2 separate regions of the Homo sapiens genome follow, and region 1 is linked to region 2. The links are contacts of gene promoters, found by promoter capture Hi-C in human tissues and cell types (Jung and others, 2019). All regions are on one chromosome and are shown on one strand. The core of a region is centred on a gene start or on the middle of the fragment in contact, and the rest is flanking DNA. Distances in the headings are between cores, read along the strand shown.

Region 1 (3,978 bases), core at 452-2,951, 240 kb before region 2:
TTTCAGGCCCTGTTCATGGAGAGTCTGTGGCCCACAGGCTCCAGAGGTTCCCCCGCCCCCAGCCCTGCCAGCCTGAAGATGCTGTCCTGGGGCACTCTCCTCTCCTTACCCAGCTAGGCCTTGGCTCTTTGTCCCCAGACCCTTCCATGACATCCTACCCACCCCTCACTATTCCCAGGGCACAGCTTTGGCCCCAGGCTCTCTTTTCAGGCACTTCTTCCAGGGAACCTCACCACTGGGCCGTGCCCGGTCAGGTCACTCCTGCCAGGGCTTCCTCCCTCCTCTTCCATCTTCAGCGGAGAGGCAGCAGGGCAGGGTAGCAAGGTCTGGGTTTGGTCCCTGGTCAGTCTGAATTTCAGCGCGACCTTGGAGAATCCACAGCCCTTCTCTGAGGAGCTGGACAAAGTGAGTGCTAAAGCTCTCAGTCTCCCCAGCTGAAGCTAAGGGCAGGGCTGGATGGGCAAGGACCCTACACTCCACATCCCGGGCACTAAGCTGAGAAAGACCTTGAGGTGACAAATCTGGGCTCAGTGGGAAACGGCTCTCCCCGCACCCCTTACCCCCATATTCAAAACCTGAGCAGCTCCCATGAGCTCTACCTTCCAACTGGATTCTGAACCCAGCCACTCTTACCACGTGTGTCTTCCACTTGGCTACTACAGTGGCCTGTTAACCACTGAGATCTGACTGTGGCTACTGAAAATACACCAGTGGCTCCTTCTTCCCTTAGCATGAAATTCACATTCTTTCCCAGGGCCTGCTATGATCTAGCCCCTGCCTGCCTCAGACCCCATTTCAAACCTCACTCTCCCTCCCTCACTGTCTGTCATCTCACCATGCCTCAGGGCCTTTGCCTGGCTGTTCCTCTGCCTACAATGATCTCCCCAAATCCTCCATGACTGCCTCCTACTCAGGGCTCAGATCACAACTCAAAAGTCACCTCTGCACAGAAGCCCTCCTTGACTGGTCTTCAGTGGGCTTCCTTCCCCTCTGTCCTTCCTGTACTGGGGATATCCTGCTTTTTTTTTTTTTTTTTTTTTTTGATACGGAGTCAGTCTGTCGTCAGGCTGGAGTGCAGTGGCGCGATCTTGGCTCACTGCAACCTCCGCCTCCCAGGTTCAAGCGATGCTCCTGCCTCAGCCTCTTGAGTAGCTGGGATTATAGGCGCGCACCACCACGCCCAGCTAATGTTTGTATTTTTAGTGGAGACGGGGTTTCACCATATTGGTCAGGCTGGTCTGGAACTCCTGACCTCGTGATCCGCCCGCCTCGGCCTTCCAAAGTGCTGGGATTACAGGTGTGAGCCACCGTGCCTGGCCAGCTGCTTTATCTTCTTCATGGTACTTATGACTGGCTGAAACATTAACTTGTTCATTTTTAATGCTCTTAGGGTCTCTCCAAGACAGAGAAATCTCCCATAGGTGCTCCTGTGGGTACCCAACTGGTCATGGGTGCCCCGTAAATACTTGTGCAATGGTGATGTTGTGTGTGTGATCTCAGGGGTGAAGGCAGGGCCTGACACTTTCCATCCTGAGCCAGATGTTCCCTAACAGCCCTCCCTCAGGGCCACCTTGCCCCACCCATCCCTTCTCACGGTGGCTGCCTGTCCTCCTGCTCTGCTGGGGCCCTCTGTCCTCCTGCTCCACTCAGCATTCCCTGTGCTGTTGCAACTCCCAGAGGAGCCAGGAGCGCCTGTCACGTGTCCCCAGGAGCAGGGAGCACTACACAAATCCTTGGCATCCCCAAAGGGCCACCCGTGCCCGGCCTCCAGCTCACCTCTGCCTGCTTCCTTCCCTCAGCTTGGCCTGTCACCCCCGGCCCTATGGGCTCCTCTGACCCCTCTGCTCATCACAACATCCCTTGTTTGTGCTGCAGTCAACCAGCGCCCAAACCTGCTCCTTCTGTCCTCTGAGAAGCCAGGGCTTCCCGTTCCCAGCTCACACAACCACTCATTAGCTGGGCTCCGGGAATGAGGATGATTGCTGCGACTAATAATCCCGATGCCCACAGCAGCGCTCCTCGCTCGGCATAGTTGGTGCGACTCATCATCCTGCCACATCACACGTTCACCCACAAGCATTTCCTGATGCCAACTCCTTGCAGGGCCTCAGAGGTCTGCGCCGGCCCCAGCTTGCCAGGAGCTGACGATCCGACAGGAGAGGCTGAATAGACACAAGAAAAAAGAGGGTCCTACAGTATTGAGAGAATACGCTAGACAGTGACCGCCACAGGAAAGTCAGTGTCTGGGGGCAGTGGTGGTGCCAATGGCTGGCGAGCAGCCGTCTCCCCTTCGCCCTGGGCATTTTGTGATGTGGGCAGTTGCTATTCTTGTAATTTTATGTGAAGTGCTACACAAATACAGCACTGAGACAAGTCTCCGACCCCTGCTTCCCCTGCCATCAGACTGTCTCCCTAAGCCCTGTCTATAGAGAAATTCTGAAGTTGACACGGGGGTGGAAGGGAGGAGGCAGGACTTGAAAGTAGGTGGGATGCCGGGCACGGTGGCTCACGCCTGTACCCCCAGCACTTTGGGAGGCCAAGGCGGGCAGATTACCTGAGCTCGGGAGTTCAAGACTAGCCTGACCAACATGGAGAAACCCCGTCTCTACTAAAAATACAAAAAATTAACCGGGCGTGGTGGCACGCACCTGTAGTCCCAGCTACCCGGGAGGCTGAGGCAGGAGAATCACTTGAACCAGGGAGGCAGAGGTTGCAGTGAGCCAAGATTGTGCCACTGCCCTCCTGCCTGGGTGACAGAGCAAGACTCAGTCTCAATAAAAAATAAACAAATTAAATAAATAAATAAATAAATAAATAAATAAATGTAGGGGGGATCTGGATGGTGGTTGGCTGGGGGGAAGGAACAGCCCTGAGCAATAGCTGAACGGTAGGAACCTCGGATATTTGGGGGTGGGAAGGGCCCACTGTGGGGAGACCAGTCAAATGGCACCCAGGCCTCCCTCAGGGGAGAAGGCTGAAGAGGATGGAAGAGGTAAGAGGATCTCTAATCCCAGGAGCTGACTAGGAGATTTAGCCAATGGCTTTGCTCAGAACAGCTTAGAGTTTTGCTCATGGACAAGAGGAGAGAAAAAAACTAGGATTTACTGGATGGACAGCGTGCAGGCTCCCCACTGGGTACTCAGCACTGAATCTGGTTTAATAAATGCCACAGGAATCCTGTGAGCTGGAGATCACCCTGCCCATTTTGCAGGTAGAAACCTGAGGTTCACAAGGAGTTCAAGATCAGTTCAGGCAACAAGGGAGACCCTGTCTCTATTCAAAAAATAAAAAAATTAGCTGGGCATGGTGGCACATGCCTATGGTCCCAGCTACTCAGGAGGCTGAGGAGAGAGGATCGCTTGAGGCCAGGAGATCGAGGCTGCAATGAGCCAAGATCATGCCACTGCACTCCAGCCTGGGCAACAGAATAAGATCCTGTCAAAAAAAAAAAAAAAAAAAAGGAGGAAACCCGAGGCTCAGAGAGTTTAAGAGAATCTGACCAAATAATGCATAAAAGTTAGGAAGGGCCTGGCGCAGTGGCTCACGCCTGTAATTCCAGCAGTTTGGGAGGCCGGGGTGGGCAGATCACGAGATCAGGAGATCAAGACCATCCTAGCTAACATGGTTAAACCCTGTCTCTACTAAAAACACAAAAAATTAGCTGGGCATGGTGGTACGTACCTGTACTCCCAGCTACTTAGGAGGCTGAGGCAGGAGAATCACTTGAACCCCAGAGGCAGAGGCTGCAGTGAGCCGAGATTGTGCCACTGCACTCCAGCCTGGGTGACAGAACAAGACTCCGTCCAAAAAAAAAAAAAAAAAAAATTGGCCAGGCGCGGTGGCTCACGCCTGTAATCCTAGCACTTTGGGAGGCCGAAGCGGGTGGATCACTTGAGGTCAGGAGTTCGAGACCAGCCTGGCCAACATGGCAAAGCCCCATCTCTACTAAAAAAAATACAAAAATTAGCCTGGCATGGT
Region 2 (3,489 bases), core at 467-2,966:
GTGTGTGCATGTGTGTGTGTGTCCCCACATGCACACAGATGCCTGAGGGGCAAATTGGGGGGTGCTTATTTAGTTTCTTCTCTTTCCCCAACAGTGATCACTTATCATCTGGTTTCCATTGCACAGCTAATCATGACTTTATTACTGCCTTGAATGTTATTTAGAATTGCATATTGCTTTTAACCTTTCTTGTTTATGTTTAACAACAATACTCTAGGAACCTTGACATTATATCATTCTTCCTTGTGTCCTCCCTGACACCTCCAACTTTGTCCTCAATAAATGGATTCTATTTTTCTCATCTATGATGAATGCCTTCCTGCCTGCTGATTATGAATGGGTACTCCTGTAACATCCACCTTTTTGTTTCATAGAACATTAGCTATACTTTCTTTCACAGTATTTACTAGTTTCATGATTTTTTTAAGATTTAAAAATATGGTGGTCCGGGTGTGGAGGCTCATGCCTGTAATCCCAGCACTTTGGGAGGCCGAGACAGGCAGATCACGAGGTCAGGAGTTCGAGACCAGCCTGGCCAATCCCCGTCTCTACTAAAAATACAAAAAAATTAGCCGGGCGTGGTGGTGGGCGCCCGTAATCCCACCTACTTGGGAGGCTGAGGCAGGAGAATCGCTTGAACCTGGGAGGCGGAGGTTGCACTGAGCCGAGATCATGCCACTGCACTCCAGCCTGGGCGACAGTGCGAGACTCAGTCTCAAAAAAAAAAAAAAAAATTGGTGGATCATAATATTATATTAAGGCTGATAAGCAGTTAAAGTTTTTAACATTGTAGACTCAAAAAGAAATCTCAGGAATCCACAAGGCGTGATTGTGTTTATTTATTACAATAAAATGCGGTCCAAATCATCATTTTTCTTGGTCGATTCCATTTCCTCATTTGATACCAAAGTCAGGGGTTGGACCCTAGAACAAAGGGAACGAACCATTAATACTAAGGCAGGAGCAGGGTCCTACCACCCAGCACCTCAAACGGCAAAGGATGGAAGGCAACCGAGACCGTTCGGATGGGATCTTCGGGGACACTGTCCTTCAGATGGCTAGCTATGAGTACCCCAATTCCACATTTACTGTCCCCATCGAAGAGAAAAACAGCATTCATTTCTTCTCCCCGTGATGAAATGAAAAGATTGTCCCCCATCTCTCAAGGAGCCGTTGATAGACTGAACCGTTGGATTGAAAGTAGGGCTCCCCAATCCCCCGGTTTAAGACGACCCAGCTGTCCCCTCTGGTGGGGGCAGCAGCGCGGTCGGGTCGCCCTCGACGCCTCCCTCAGCAGGAGGCCTGGGCAGACCCCCTGCGGCCGCCGGACATTTTCCTGACACCGGATTCCCTGGTCAGGAGGATGAGGCGGGCTCTCCTAGACTCAGGTCCGATTCGATTGAAAATGAGGTTGGAAATCCCTCAAGATCACTAAAATTCCTCCCCAAAGGTCGGAGCGGAACGCTCAAAGTCACTAGCCCAGGGACCCCAAAAAAGGAGCGAGAAAGGGAAGCGCGCCTTCTCAAAACGAGCGTCCCCTCAGAGTCTTCGCACGCTGTTCGTTTTTGCCACTTACCCCCCTCGTACCCACAGTCTCCCCGAGATTTTCAAGGTGAAGCCCCTCTGCCCCGCCCGACCTCCTCAGCTGACAGGATTCTAACTCGGGCCTAGAACACGGAGCCTGGAGACCCGCGCGCCGTTGACCACAGGGTTTGGCGCCAAACGAGGAGGGCGGGGCGAGGACCAAGGGGCCGGGGCGGGGCGCAGGGTGAGGGTGGAAGGGCGGGGAGGGAGCAGGCCTACAGAGGGCGACGAGGGGCGGGGAGCAATGGGGGCGGGGCGAAGACCGAAGGGCGGGGAACGAGCGGGCTCACAGGTGGGGGGACCAGAGGGCGTGGCCTGGAGGGGGCTCAGGGCGAGGGGGCGGGGCGAGGGCTGAGGCGCGGAAAACGAAGAGGAGCCCCAGCGGGTGGCGAGCTGGGATGACGGAGGGAGGGAGGGAGGGGCGCTGTGGAAGGAGCGCGCTGAGGAGCGGGGCCTTGAAGGGAGACCGTTGAGCTGGGGCGTCCCTCGAGCTGAGCACCTCGCTAAAGTCCGGGAGAAGACCCTGAGGCGGGGTTCTGAGGAGGTAGCCTTGAGTCGGGGGAGGGGCGATGAGCAGAGGTGGCTGACTTTGGCGATAGGTCTTGGTCGCGAGGGTTGCAGATGGAGCCTTGGCTTAGAAGGTCGAATCCGGGCCCGTTTCCCCCCGCCCCCGCTGCCCATGGCTTCTCTTTTCACCTCCAGGTTTTCATGCTGGCTTCAGAGTTTGGCCGTGCTCCCTCAGCGTTCCTAATTTCCCACTTTCTGACTCTCACCATTTGCCACTCTTGTCTGTGATTGAGACACCCGAGGCCCATTCAGGATGGAGAGTAATTTTTTCTCTGTCTTAACTTGAAGTTTTAAATAGACCACAGACGCCAAGTATATTTTGGTTCAGCTTTTAAATAGAAGTCGCAGGCCAGCCTTCGTGCCAGCAGCGCCATCGCTGGCAGCATCCTCCTCCTCCCCTCACGCGGAGACTGACTTGGGGAGAGTCAGGAAACATTTGAGAGAGCAGCTGCCGAGGTGGAGGCTGTGATGTATCTTGGATGAATCTCTGTGCAAACAGTTCTTTGGGTTCAAGACCTAGTACAGGGCGATCCTTTTTGTTTTTTCTGTCTGAATCATTTTGGTGGAATAAATAGCAAAACATTCCCACAATAGCAGTTGGCATTTTGTGTAGGACGCACCCCCCCAACAGGTGGATTGTTTTAAGAGCCAACAAATAACTGCCATTGTGCTTCCAAATCTGTTATTTTCCCCCAAACACAGTCGTCCTTGTTATATGGAGATGAATGCCCATTTGGGGGAGGAACTGGATAGTGGTGAAAGGCTTTCGCTCTGAGGCCTCACCTAAATAATTATGGGAACTTTTGAGCAACTCGTTAGGTGAAGACATCAACAGTCTACAGAAGAGCTGCAAAGAGCACAGCAAGATGATTTAGGGAAATATAACATATGTAGTTTGGTGTAGTGACAGCTGGGAGAGAGAAATGTTCATAATATTTGAAGGTTGTGTGCAGTACACTTAAAAAAACTAAAATGAGCTGGGTAATGACAAATTCATGAAGGGAGGAGAAAAATCTTATCTGGGTATCATATCGATGGTTAGAGACAACTTTTAAGATATTTAAAACAACAACAAACTCTAGGACAGTTAAAAAGTGCACATGAAGACTTTCCACTAAAATCGGAACCAAAAAAATTGTCTTTCGTATCATACAAAAACTCTGAATATCATGAAGGTGGCATTTCACATCAGTGGAGAAATGATGAATTCAGTGAATAGTGTTAGAACAACTAGGTAACCATCTGGAAGAAAAATAAAATTGGAACCACACTTTACACATTATACCAAAATAAATTCCAGACAGATCAAAAAATTAAATCTGAACAATAAAATAATAA

The links. The method cuts DNA at HindIII sites, captures the fragments that hold promoters and counts their contacts. A contact is called where the count stands out against the background at its distance.
Region 1: a contact is called between a fragment that was not itself captured here and the fragment with the promoter of DMC1 in region 2, in 1 of the 25 tissues and cell types used here (aorta).

The regions. Positions count from the first base shown.
Region 1 is chr22:38,325,939-38,329,916 of GRCh38, forward strand. All of the region lies in intron 5 of TPTEP2-CSNK1E (TPTEP2-CSNK1E readthrough), which reads right to left. Among named protein-coding and RNA genes, the nearest start is that of CSNK1E, 10 kb to the left of the region's middle. RefSeq lists an enhancer at 1,578-2,089. The HindIII fragment of the contact is 5,320 bases long and covers 1-3,978 here.
Region 2 is chr22:38,568,467-38,571,955 of GRCh38, forward strand. It overlaps DMC1 (DNA meiotic recombinase 1), which reads right to left and starts at 1,717. Exons shown (of 14, transcript NM_007068.4): 1 at 1,577-1,717. It overlaps LOC105373031 (a long non-coding RNA gene), which reads left to right and starts at 2,034. Exons shown (of 2, transcript NR_134627.1): 1 at 2,034-2,128; 2 at 2,287-2,892. RefSeq lists a silencer at 1,713-2,002 and enhancers at 2,306-2,816, 2,403-2,452. The HindIII fragment of the contact is 22,042 bases long and covers 1-3,489 here.